2 separate regions of the Homo sapiens genome follow, and region 1 is linked to region 2. The links are contacts of gene promoters, found by promoter capture Hi-C in human tissues and cell types (Jung and others, 2019). All regions are on one chromosome and are shown on one strand. Each heading gives the region's core, a stretch centred on a gene start or on the middle of the fragment in contact. The rest is flanking DNA. Distances are from core to core; before and after follow the strand shown. Region 1 overlaps C8orf44-SGK3 (C8orf44-SGK3 readthrough). Region 2 holds the start of MCMDC2 (minichromosome maintenance domain containing 2).

The links. Contacts are between HindIII fragments. The study calls those that stand out against the background at their distance.
Region 1: a fragment that was not itself captured here is called in contact with the fragment with the promoter of MCMDC2 in region 2 in 1 of the 25 tissues and cell types used here (hippocampus).

Annotation. Positions count from the first base shown.
Region 1 is chr8:66,673,725-66,680,555 of GRCh38, reverse strand. C8orf44-SGK3 (C8orf44-SGK3 readthrough) reads right to left here. Exons shown (of 19, transcript NM_001204173.2): 2 at 532-835. It overlaps C8orf44 (chromosome 8 putative open reading frame 44), which reads right to left. Exons shown (of 2, transcript NR_161217.1): 2 at 1-835. Among named protein-coding and RNA genes, the nearest start is that of C8orf44-SGK3, 9.5 kb to the right of the region's middle. The HindIII fragment of the contact is 5,996 bases long and covers 1,030-6,831 here.
Region 2 is chr8:66,867,929-66,874,977 of GRCh38, reverse strand. It overlaps MCMDC2 (minichromosome maintenance domain containing 2), which reads right to left and starts at 4,207. Exons shown (of 15, transcript NM_173518.5): 1 at 4,147-4,207; 2 at 744-925; 3 at 522-652; 4 at 392-451. The coding sequence starts at 837. RefSeq lists an enhancer at 3,921-3,990. The HindIII fragment of the contact is 9,372 bases long and covers 1-7,049 here.

The sequences.
Region 1 (6,831 bases), core at 2,778-5,277, 190 kb after region 2:
TTCAGCCCTGACCTGGCATCATATTTATCTATAACTGGCAGTTCTTCTCTGACAGGATAGATTAATAAACATTAAAACACATCTAAAATTTATTTACCTGTTGTTCATGCAGGTATGCTAGTGTTCAGTCAGCATTTGTAAGACATTCGTTGTAAACAAAGCACTGAATTAGACAGAATAGATGAACAGAAAGATAAACAAGACCTGGCCAAATGTTGCCCCAAATCCATACCTGATGGAGACAGGAAGGGCCTTTAGTGCTTGTGTGTCAGTGGTGATACTATTCACTTTCATTTTTTTTCTGCCACATTTCATTTTCATACCAATTCTGGTTAGTGGGTTTCATTTATTCTCATTTTACAGATGAGAACGACCAGAGATGTTAGCTTGCCCAAAATTACTCAAATACTAAATGACAAAGCTAAGAGTATCATGTCCGAGGTAACAGGTCTGACTCCAGAGTTCATGTTCTCTCCTTATCATCCTATTTTATAAGTCACAAAAACATGAATACAGCAAAATTTCACTTACTCAACACTCCCGGGGATGAGTCATGCTGGACAGATGAATAAGTGAAAGGCTATCCTCTGAGAAATATTGTTCAAAACCTTCCAAGGTTAGAGAACAGAAGACTCCAGAAGCCTTTGGACAGTCTTTTCCTCCCTGTGATTCTTTTCCTCTTGGGCTTCTGGGATTTCAAACTCGGTACATCTGGTCTCTTGGAGACACATCCTCCCTGGAAGCTCCAGCAGAAGATGGCCAAAGACCCCTTTTGCCTTTTCTGCTTCTCCAAAGCACAAATGAGAGACTGATAATTCAGAAATAATTCTAATACCTACAAAATGAGAACAAAACAGGAAATACTTAAAAGCAGTCAGGTTTTCAAAGCACAGCTTTCTGATACTCACCCAGTCCTCTATCTTAAAACACTACCCCTTGGTTCTAGAGGGTGTGATGGCTATGCAGGTCTGTTTCTCATTTGTCAGCATTTTGCTATCTCCTGGACAAGCAGCTTTCAGTATTTATCTTGTCTGTAGTCCTAGAAATGGGTCTAATGATTCATTCTACTTCCATACGTAACCTCCCTGAATTTTAGTTTTGTCATCTGTATAAAAAGGGAATAAAAACATCTAACTCATAAAGACAAATGGGGAAACCATGTATGCATATCACACACAGTAAGCACTCCTATTAGTTGTCCAAGTCCAAACAGCTGGTAAGTAAGAGCTGGGACTCCATCTAGCCAGATTGGCTCCAGAATCAGTGTTTCTAATCACCTGTGGTGAAAGTCAACCACTCACACCTGCACCCCACTCAGTTTGCCTTTCTAGTTCATCTCTATCCCCAACCAGGGCCCACAAGCTGATACCACAGCAAGAACAGAATTGAGGGAACAGAAAGAGCCTATGAATCTATCGTATCATATACAGAGGGTATAATTTATGACTAAAGATGCAGCTACTTTATAATCTTCTGTACAGTTTGAATTCTTAAGAGTAGGCATCTAATACTTCCATAAGCAATAAAAAACATATAAATTCATTTTAGGATAAAAAATTACCAAACCTAGGAACTTTGGAAAGGAAGGAATTGCATATAGTTTTCATGTGTTTAATGTCAGTTAAATTACTAGAAACTTATCAGTAAATAGTATTTTCCTGTATCATGACAGTGGCTAAGAATAAGGGTTAAGAGTAGACATGTGTTGAATTCCAGCAACACTACCTTACACTACCAACACTACCTTACTAGCTGAACTTTACCTAACTTAGAATTCTGAGGGTGTTCTCACCTATAAATGGGAATAATAATACCTATCGTATGGGGTATTGTTAGGCTTCAGACAGTATAAATGAGGTGCTTGGTATGGTGCCAGGTTCATCACAAGCACTCAATATTTTTCTTTCTACAATATCACTTCTATGGCTGAAGAGTATCCCATCTCATGGGGATGTGCCATGATTCACTTACCCAGTCTCATACTGTTATTGATATCTTCAATTTTGTCAATAATATAAACAACAGCAAATTTTTTTCACACATTTCTGTTTATTTCTTTAGGGTGAAACCCTATAAGTGAGATGCTGGATCAAAGGATATGAGCATTGTAAACTTTTGACACACATTATCTACCAAACATAGTTTTACTAAGTTAAACCTTCTCTATATTAAAGGTATTTATTCAGCTCTTACCAATACTGTATATTATTTTAAAGATCTATGCTAATTTTATAGGCCAAAAAAACACAAACAACTCATATTGTTATGTACACATTTATTAGACATTTCAGTTTCTTTTGTTATGTTATAAAGCTCTTGGGCTCCTTAAAGTATGACCTGGCACAAAAAGAGAAAAACAATTTGAGTATGTAAAATTTTTAACGTAGTGTATTACGGAGGTGGCATTTCAAGTCATTTATGAGAGGATGAATTTTTCCAATGGGTTTTTTTTTTATTTTTGAGACGAAGTCTCGCTCTGTTACCCAGGCTGGAGTGCAACGGCACGATCTCAGCTCACTGCAACCTCTGCCTCCCAGGTTCAAGTGATTCTCTTGCCCCAGCCTCCCAAGTAGCTGAGATTACAGGTATGCACCACCGCACCTGGCTAATTTTCGTATTTTTAGTAAAGATGGGGTTTCGCCATGTTGGCCAGGCTGGTTTCGAACTCCTGACCTCAGGTGATCTGCCTGCCTTGGCCTCCCAAAGTGCTGGGATTACAGGCATGAGCCACCGTGCCCGGCCTTTCCAGTGGTTTTCGAAGTGCTCCCGACAGCCTCCCATGAGGGAAAGTGTGGGAATGGGGATAGGGGGTGCTGGCTGGTTGAGATAACTCTCATTCTTCCTCATTTCAACTACGTTAATCTGTTCTACATACTGAATTTATTGGTAAGCTTTGATCTGAAGGGTTCCATACCTGAAAAGAAAAACAAAAACACATTTAACGCAAGGTTTGGAAATAACTGGCATTTTTCAATCAATAAATACATACACAAAATGAGTTGAATGTCTTTTACATCATATACAAAAATACATTTCAACTGGATTAAAACATTAAATGGAAAAAAGCCCACAGAAATGACAACATAAGGAAGCATTAACTGATCTTGGGGATAAAGAGGACCTTTTCCAACACACTGATAAAAGCAAAAACTGTAACAAGAGGCACTATTGTCTGTATTGGTTTTTCCTAAAGTGTGCGCCTCTGATACAGGTTCAAAATGGTTTCATGGCCATAGAAGTGTGAAAATGCTACATATCAATAATTGCGCAGAGAGGGCCAAGCGCGGTGGCTCACGCCTGTAATCCCAGCACTTAGGGAGGCTGAGGCAGGTGGATCATTTGACGTCAAGAGTTTGAGACCAGCCTGGTCAACATGGTGAAACTCGTCTCTACAAAAACTACAAAAATTAGCCGGGTGTTGTAGCAGGTGCCTGTAATTCCAGCTACTTGGGAGGCTGAGGTAGGAGAATCGCTTGAACCTGGGAGGCAGAGGTTGCTGTGGGCCAAGATTGCACCACTGCAATGCAGCCTGGGTGACAGAGCGAGACTCTGTCTCAAAAAATAAATAAATAAAAAAAATAGTGCAGAGGTGGCTTAGGGCACTAACATCCAATTATTTCTATCAGCATCCCAGATCACCACAAAATACACACTCGATATGAAACAATGTGCAGAAGGACATCTTCTAGTGTTGTGTGCCCCAAGCAGACTCCTGACATTAAGCCCTTCTTTTTCCTAGACATTCTAGAGCCATCACTGTTGCTCTCTGGAGAGTCACAATGTCCTTAGCAAAGAAAGGCTATGAGAAGACCTAAAGTGGAAAAAGAATAAAACTAATTTAGTCCGCATTTGACTACAGAACCCTTCCTTCAACATGATGCCTACTAATATCCACAGAATTCATGGCACATAACCTGCCAAATGCCAGGCTATGTGGAAATTAATGTTTGAACAGGAAAATGTTGTACCAGAGGTGTCCTTGTAAAGGATGTAGTCCATTTCTTGCGATTTTACTGATACTCAATTTGAGGCCCTCTTTGATGTAATCTGCGGACACCTAGTGCTGATGCTTTAATTTAAGTACATACACATAATTTCCTACAATAAACTGCTGCCCATCTACATAAAAAACCCTGCTTGCAGACTGCCTTATATTTAAATTCTTATACATCATCACAATGCACTTATATCTTGGAATAATACGAAAGGATTTATTTAAATGATCCACAGGGTTAAAAAAGAAGTATGCAGGCTTGTGCTTTTGCTCTTACCTATTAAAATGTCTTCCGCAACTACAGATGTAGAAAGTATGTCAGGTACTTCTTATTCTGATTTTTATGTCATACAAAAGGAACTGAATTAGACTGTGTTTAGGAGACAGAGTTAAATGGGTCAGAGAGAGGGATCAGGCCCTTCTACAAAAACTAGAATGTTACTAGAATGAAGATATAACAAGTGTTTCACTTAAGCAAATTCTTAAACTTTATATTCTTCCACCCTAAAAGCACCCTTCAGGTTCTAAATAAAGGGAAAATAAAGACAGGTAACAGGCAAAGGTAATAGAATTGCAGTGATAAGCATTCTTCTGCTCCAACAATATTGGTTGTTTGGTTTTGCCATTTAAAATTAATAGTAACTCGGCTGGGCGCGGTGGCTCACACCTGTAATCCCAGCACTTTGGGAGACTGAGGCAGGCGGATCACCTGAGGTCAGGAGTTCAAGACCAGCCTGGCCAACATGGCGAAACCCCGTTTCTACAAAAATAAAATAAAATAAAATACGAAAATTAGCTGGGTATGGTGGCACATGCCTGTAATCCTAGCTACTCAGGAGGCTGAGGCAGGAGAATCGCTTGAACCTGGGAGGCGGAGATTGCAGGGAGCCAAGATTGCACCACTCCATTCCAGCCTAGGCAACAGAGTGAGACTCTGTCTCAAATAAATAAATAAATAAATAAATTAAATAAAATAAAATCAATAGTAACTTGAATTGTAAAGTGTTAGCTTTATGAGCATTAAGATTCAACTTCTGATCTATTTCTACGTTAAATGTGTCTCTGTATGTTTATTTTTATTTTAGAGACAGCATCTCTCCCTGTCACCCAGGCTGGAGTGCAGTGGTACTATCATAGCTCACTGCAGCCTCAAACTCCTGGGCTCCATCAGTCCTCCTGTCTCAACCTCCTGAGTAGCTAGGACTACAGGCACACACCAGTACAGCTGGCTAACTTTTAAAAATTTTAAATTTATTACTTGTAGAGATGGGGTTGACCAAGTTGTTCTTGAACTCCTGGCCTTAGGTAATCCTCCAGTCTAAGCTTCCCAAAGTGCTGAGATTACAGGCATGAGTCACTGCTCCCAGGCCCTCTGTACATTTAATAATGTCAATGCAAAAACAGCTGTTTGCACAAATACACTGCATTATTAACTTCCTGGTCTTCTGTTGCTAGTTTGAAATAATCAGATCTCAAATTTTAACAAAAATTCTGGCACTACAAAACCCTGGAAAGCCAGTTTTATTTGAATATCACTCGATTAGAGTCTACTCACTTTAAGATAAGGTTAGTATTTTTTCGACTATTTTAAATCTGAATTATATGGTATCTAATTTAAGCCTTCCTGGGAAATAAAAAAAAATTCCTCATTGTGTATTTACTACTTTACTTACAGTGACTAAGTTGTTGCAAATATATGTAAGTGCATGTGTGTTATGTGCAATTTCTATTTTTAGTAGGAACGTGGCACCAACAGTTACAGCACTGAGTTTGCCATGGGCTACTGTGTGACATGTGATGACTCAACTCTCCCACCTCTTTTCTCAAAATGATCGTGAAACCTTACACGTTTTGTCACAATGTTCATTGGCTTTCAACTGATAAAAACAAAATCCTAAACTTGGTGTGAATTCAGGCTCTCAAAACTTCATGTTTTAAGGTACTCATCTGGAAAAATCACAATATGACTTTGCTTTAGATTAGCATCAAAATGACAACATAAACATTTTTAAACTGCAACCAAATGGTGGATTCTCCAGGAACTTATGCTTGAATATCAGGCTGAAACACACTGCCATAGATGATAGCCATTAATTCATTCAACAATATCTATTCAGGCTATATATGCCTGGCACAGGGAATCCAACAATCAACAAACTGCCTGCCCTTATGAAAAGCCTTACTAAAGAGTCTAGTGGGGAAGGATGACAACAGACAAGTAATCATATAATTCCTGATGATTAGTGGTATAAAGAAAATGAGTGGGGGCCAGGCGCAGTGGCTCACGCCTATAATCCCAGCACTTTGGGAGGCCAAGGAGGGTGGATCACCTGAGGTCAGAAGTTCGAGACCAGCCTGACCAATATGGTGAAATCCCGTCCTACTAAAAATACAAAAATTAGCCGGGTGTGGTGGCAGGCGCCTGTAGTCCTAGCTACTTGGGAAGCTGAGACAGGCAAGTTGCTTGAACCCAGGAGGGGGAGGTTGCAGTGAGCCAAAATCATGCCACTGCACTCCAGCCTGGGTGACAGAGCCAAAAAAAAAGAAAAGAAAAGAAAATGAGTGGGATAGGGGAAGAGAGAAAAAGGATAGAGGTGTTGTTTTAGAGACACTGGTTAGAAAAGCCATCTCACTGGAACTGAGATTTGAGCTGACAACTATATAAATTCTACCTGGGAGTTTTCCAGGCAGAAGAGCAAGTGCCAAGGTCCTGAGACAGGAATGTACTTGGAATGTTTGAGGACCCACAAGGAGGCCAGTGTGGCTGAAGCACACAAGCCACGGAAATAATGTCAGAGAAGCCAGGTGCCTGATTACACAGGGTCCTTTATGTTGTA
Region 2 (7,049 bases), core at 2,958-5,457:
TCGAGATCAGCCTGGCCAGCATGGTGAAACCCTGTCTCTACTAAAAATACAAAAATTAGCTGAGCGTGGTGGTGGGCACCTGTAATCCCAGCTACTTGGGAGGCTGAGGCAGGATTGTTTGAACCCGGGAGGCAGAGGTTGCAGTGAGCTGAGATTGTGCCACTGCACTCCAGCCTGGCGACAGAGCGAGACTCCATCTCAAAAAAAAAAGAAGTGTTTAATGTTATAAAGGATAATACAAGAAATAAAGATGCCTATGTAAGATATTCTATTGAATTTTGAAAAAAAGTAGTATCCTTTTAAATAAAAAGTCTATGAATATAAAAATATTTTTTTACAAGTCATCATGTAAATCTGTACCTGAGTTTGCTTAAATGTAACTAAAACTTACTTGCGTTTCAGTCTGCAATTGTCCAATTAATGAGAGAGTCTTAACAGCAATAAAACAGACCTGTGATTTCAAACAAAAAAAGTTACCAAAAATTCCATGTGGCATAAAATTATTTCTTTTTTTGACTTACTGATTGAAAGACTTCAGCAGCTTTTAAAGGTTGGTGTAAAATGTGATTTCCAAGCTCAGCATCTAATTCAACAACATCAGAGGGATTTATTAAAATTTTGAATCGATAGACAGCATAGCTTTGTTTTGAATCTATGAAAATATACAAATGTAAAAGTCAGGATAGCTATGTGTAGGAGTTTATTTGAAAGTTTTAAAAATAACTCACCTTTGCTGAACGTACCATTGTAGTACTTGCAATCATCTATAAACTTTTGGAGGCCTCCACTTCTGTCAAGATAGATGAGGGCCGCCTCTTTCATTTTTAGATTTGACATTTTCTCCTGGTTAATATTTCTAATTGATTAAACCACAATTGTTGATAAAAGCTATAGATGGCGAAACTCATAGAAAGGATGTGAAAACCTAGAAATAAAATTAATTTTATTTTTGAAAATCTCTAATAAGACTTTACAAATTATTAAAGTTGACAGTGAACTAAAACTAGGCAAAATTTCCAACTTAAAAACATTCCTACCCAATGAAAACAAAACTTTTGTTTTCTTTTGCCAAATAACTTCTTTTTTTTTTTGAGATGGAGTCTCGCTCTGTTGCCCAGGCTGGAGTGCAGTGGCGCAATCTCAGCTCACTGCAACCTCCACCTCCCAGGTTCAAGCGATTCTCCTGCCTCAGCCTCCCAAGTAGCTGGGACTACAGGTGTGTGCCACCATGCCCGGCTAATTTTTTGTATTTTTAGTAGAGATGGGGTTTCATTGTGTTAGCCAGGATGGTCTTGATCTCCTGACCTCGTGATCCGCCAGCTTCAGCCTCCCAAAGTACTGGGATTACAGGTGTGAGCCATCGCGCCCAGCCCAAATAACATTTTTATCAAGACTGTTATGAGATCCTCCACAAGATCGAAAACTTAAAAACAGGAACCTCAAATGTCTCTTAACAGAGGTACTCCCAAAAATGTTTGTTGAAATAAACAATATCTGATGATGAGGGTCCTTTCCAGGTGTTGTTTAAAAAATGAAACTGGTAAAAGTTGTTTCATAAATTCAATCTAAGTAACAAAATATAGTAGAATTAGTATTAAACTGGGAAACCTGAGAACTTGGTTCTAGACCCAGCATTTCCTGGTTGCTATGGGGAAATCATCTGACCTCTCTTGGCTCAGTATCTATCTGTAGGAAAGGAAAGTGTTGTATCAGATGATTAAAGCCCCTTCCAATTTTAAATATTGTGTCAGTGACCAACATAAAACATTAAACCACAGTAATGAGTAAAGAATGGAATATGTGAAATTCATTGAAAGACAGCAAATACTAATTGGAAACAATATATGTCAGTAGTTGTAACAGGTGCTAGAAATAAAATGATTAATAGGTGCTAAAATAAAATGATTAAGATTGGATCCTGCCTTTCAAGAAGTTGCTAGGCAGAGACAGAGAAGTCAGAAATAATGACTAACACGTTATTCATTCATTACCAGGTTGTTTTTTTTTTTTTTTTTTTTTTGAGATGGAGTCCCAACTCTGTCGCCCAGGCTGGAGTACAGTGGCACTATCTTGGCTCACTCCAGTCTCCACCCCTGGGTTCAAACGATTCTCCTGCTTCAGTCTCCCAAGTAGCTGGGATTATAGGCATGTGTCACCCGGCCCAGCTAATTTTTGTATTTTTAGTAGAGACGGAGTTTCACCATGTTGGCCAGGTTGGTCTCGAACTCCTGACCTCAAGTGATCTGCCCGCCTTGGCCTCCCAAAGTGCTGGGATTACAGGCGTGAGCCACCGCACCCGGCCTCATTACCAAATATTTATTTGGCACCTACTATAGGTTGGATACTAGATTGTCCTAGGCACTTAAGGATACTAAGATGAGTAAAATATTGTCCCTATCCTTCAGAAAGAGTGCAGTGAGAGAAGACATATATGTAAACAGTTACATGGCAATTTAAGTGCTGTAATAGAAATATGAATATACCAGGTAGCATGAAAGGAACAACATATATGAAATATTTCACAAAATTTGGGGTCATCCTTGTATATGGGTCATAACATTTTCCATTATTTTAAGACATTTTCATTGAAGATGGTGGGGTCATAGGGAAGAAGGTATGAATTCTACTTTAAGGTGACATTTGATAGACGACTATTTCACTAATTGGAGGAGAGGTGAAGAGAAAGAGAAAGTGTTCCAGAGATGGAGGTCACCTTCCACCCTCATTATCAGTTTTACACTACTGGATCCACACACCCACTACGTGGAGTTCAGGCTACTTTCCAAAGAAAACCAATTAAGACTGTCCTTTTTGCTACAACATAAAAGTGAAACTTTAGCGTTTATTTCTCCGTGGCCATAAGGACAATGATCTCAAAATGTGTGTTGTGTTCAGAACATCACATCTTTGCTGCACTAGAACATTAGGTTTCTGGGGTGGAATGAAGGGCGACTATTGGTAATTAAATGGTTGGGTGAGGCCAGATTATGTACGCTTTTGAAGATTATATAGGCAAAGGGAAGCCATCAAAGTTTTTTTAAGGGGGTTAGTATTATAGTCAGATTTTTTTTTTTTTTGAGACAGGGTCTCACTATGTTGCCCAGGTTGGAGTTGCAGTGGCGTGATCTCGGCTTGCTGCAGCCTCTACCTCCCGGGCTCAAGCTATCCTCCCTTCTCAGCCTGGGACTATAGGCACGTGCCACCACATCCAGATAATTTTTAATTTTTTTGTAGAGACGGAGTTTTACTGTGTTGCCCAGGCTGGTCTCCAACTCTTGGGTAGCTGTCTCATCCTCCCAAAGTGCTGGGATTACAGGTATGAGCCACTACGCCTAGCCCATAGTCAGATTTTTATTTTGGAAACCTGTGCCTGCTGCCAATGTGGAAAGTAGGTTGGAATAGCGGGAGAGCTGATAATCAGTTTCTACCTATTGGGATATTCCTACAAGTTGGATGGCCTGATCCAGGGCATTAGGAACGAAATGGAATGGAGGAGATCGATTCTAGAATTTTAAAGATTGCACACTGGACCTGGTGATCAGTCTACAATACGCAGAAGAGTAATCGAAAGCTAAGTGGGGTTTTAATATGGGTATGGGTGGATGCTGCTGCTCTAATGGAAATACAGAGCCCAAGGAGAAGTGTTAAGGACATGAGGAAAAGTTCCCTTGAGATATCCTGACTTTGAGGACTCTTGGGATTCCCTGATAGATGTAAGCAGGAGGGGGCCATAAATCAGGGCCTGGAGTTCGGTGGCATCAAAAGAGTTAGAGCTAAGTCTGGGTGTCACTGCGTAAAGCGGAGGCCCTGGGGAGTGGACGCGTTTTCACGGAGGCATATTAAGTCGGGAAAAGACATAGAAGCCTGTGGAAAAGCGTTAAGTGAGGGAACAGGGATAAAATTCTAACTCCCTGTCTTCCCTTAGTCTAACGAACGCCGAGTGTTGCTGCACGTGGAACAGGCGCGGATTCTGTCTTCTCTCCGTGCCCTGTCAGCACCGGGGATGAACTGGTGAGGGGAAGACTGCAGGAAAACACTTCACAACCAAAGCGGATGAAAGCGAGTCCAGACTCATGAGGACCCCTCCCACTGACAGCGGTGACCTCGAGTTAGTGGGACCCCAGCGCTGTAGTGCTTTGCACTCACCTTGACTCCCACCAAGCTTGGCGGTTGCTCTCCGCCTGCAGCGTAGGCGGAGCGGAGTCCTAGCGCGCATGCGCGCACGTCCCGGCCGTTGGCTGCGTCGCGGGGCCTGCCGGGACCGCCCGCGCCCTCGGGTCAGCAGGGGAACTAGCCGGGCTTGTTCCCTTACGTTTTAATAGCTTCACTCTTGCTCCCTCCCAGCGAAGCAGAGAAAAAATAGGTCTACGTTTGGTTTTTGTTGTTATCTCAGGCAAATGATGTTATGTTTAAAAAATTCAAAACGCTGCTTCAGGGAATGCAAAATGTCTAGTCACTTTAGAAGACATTCCAGTATTCCCTCGAAGGACTCAACATAAAGTTACCCTATGATCCAGTAATTCCACTCTTAGGTATTTATAAATACACCCAAGAGAATTGAAAACATATGTTCACACAGAGACTTCTACACGAATGTTCATAGTATTATTCATAGTAGCCCCAAAGTGGAAACAATATGAATGCCCATCACCGATTAATGGATAACTGTGGTGTAAGCCATACAATGGAATGGTTTTGGCCATAAAACGTGATGAGGCACTAATACATGCTACAACATGGATGAACCTGGCAAACACTATGTAAGAAGCCAGACACAAAAGGCCATATGTTGTGTAATTTTGTTTATATGAAATGTCCAGAATAGGCGAATCCATAAGGAAAGAAAGCAGATTTGTGGTTGCCCAGAGGTTGGTTGAGAATGCAGAATGATTGCTAATGCGTATGGGATTTCTTGTTCTTTTTAAATTGTGGTAAAATATACATAAAATATACAATTTTAACCATCCTAAAGTGTAGTTACACTACCTACGTTCACACTGTGCACTCATCACCACTATCTGTAGAACTGTTTTCATTTTCCCAAACTGAAACTCCATACACATTAAACAACTCCCCATTCTTCTCTTCCTCATCCCCTGGCAACCATCAGTCTTTGCTTCCTTGAATTCGACTACTCCAGGTACCTCATGTAAATAGAATCAAACAGTATTTGTCCATTTGTGATGGGCTTATTTCACTTTGCCAAACATCTTCCAGTTTCATCCATGTTGTAACATGTTAGAGTTTCCTTCCTTTTTAAGGCTGAATAATATTCCACTGTGTGTGTACCATATTTTTTGTTGTTCATGAATTCACACAGGTTTTCTTTTAGAAGTGATGGAAATGATCTAAAATTGATTGTGGTGATAGTCACACAACTCTGAATCTACTGAAAGCCAGTTGATTGTACATTTTAAATAGTTGAATTGTACAGTACTTGAATTAAATCTTATTGAGGTTGGCCGGGTGCGGTGGTTCACGCCTATAATCCCAGCACTTTGGGAGGCCAAGGCGGGTGGGTCACTTGAAGTCGGGAGTGGACACCAGCCTGGACAACATGGTGAAACCCCATCTCTACTAAAAATACAAAAATTAGCCAGGTGTGGTGGCGCGCGCCTGTAATTCCAGCTACTCTGGATTAATACTATTAGCAGACAGGATAATCACTTGAACCCAGGAGGCAGAAGTTGCAGTGAGCAGATATCGCACCATTGCACTCCAACCTGGGCGATAGAGCGAGACCCTGTCTCCAAAAAAAAAAAAAAAGAAACTGTTACCAAAAAACCCCAAACCCTTAAATTGTACCTGCTTCTCCACCATTAGTATTTCCTTTTTTTTTTTTTTAAGACAAGGTCTACCTGTGTCCCAGGACACAGTGGCCCAATCAGGGCTCATTGCAGTCTCAATCTCCTGGCTCAAGTGATCCTCTCACCTCAGGCTCCCAAGTAGCTAAGACTTCAACTATGCCTGGCAAACTTGTAAATTTTTTTTCGTAGAGACAGGGGTCTCATTTTGTTTCCCATGCTGGTCTCATACTCCCGGGCTCAAGCAATCATCCACCTCAGCCTCCCGAAGTGCTGGGATTACAGGCATGAGCCACCGTGCCTGGCCTCAACCTTTAGTGTTCTTGATACAGTTATCAACTCTGCTCCATTGCATTGGGTTGGATCATTTTCCATGAAAAAGTAATTGAGGTCATCCCTTTTCATATATAATAGGAGTGGCAAAACACCTCAGAGTTTGTTTCTCTGGGAGAATATAATCTATTTTAGTTGTGAGATAAAATACTTTTTCAGAGTAGAAATCAATTTACAACAACAATGAGGATGTTCAAATTGTCTTGTACTACAATTCTGTGGTAATAACTACAGTTTTAGATGGGAATAGGCTATGGTCTGGTGATGGCCATTGTATTTTAAAGTAGAATAAATTCTTCTAGAGGGTATCCATATATTTTAAAGTTTTTTTTGAGATGGAGTCACACTGTGTTGCCCAGGTTGGAGTGCAGTGGCATGATCTCTGCCTCCTGGGTTCAAGCAATTCTCATGCCTCAGCCTCCCGAGTAGCTGGGATTACAGGCACATGCCACCACGCCTGGCTAATTTTTGAGTTTCTCGTAGAGTTGGGGTTTCACCATGTTGGCCAGGCTGGTCTTGAACTCCTGACCTCAGGTGAACCTCCTGCCTTGGCCTCCCAAAGTGGTGGGATTGTTATAGGCATGAGCCACCGCGTCTGGCTATTTTAAAGTTTTGATTAATCAGTTCATAGCATAACATCGTTCGTTTCTGCACCAGAGTAATAGTTTTATATCAACCAAGTCCAGCAAAATCTTCTAATAGATTTTTATGTATTTAATACATCCTATAAAATATCTGCACAGTCAGGCATGGTGGCATGCACCTGTAGTCCCAGCTACTAGGGAGGCTGAAGTGGGAGGTTGCAGTGCATTATGGTTGCACCACTGGACTCTGGCCTAGGTAAAAAGTGAGACTCTTAGAAAAAAAAAATCTGTTAGACCTAAAATTGGAATTTAAAACCTTAAGAATTCA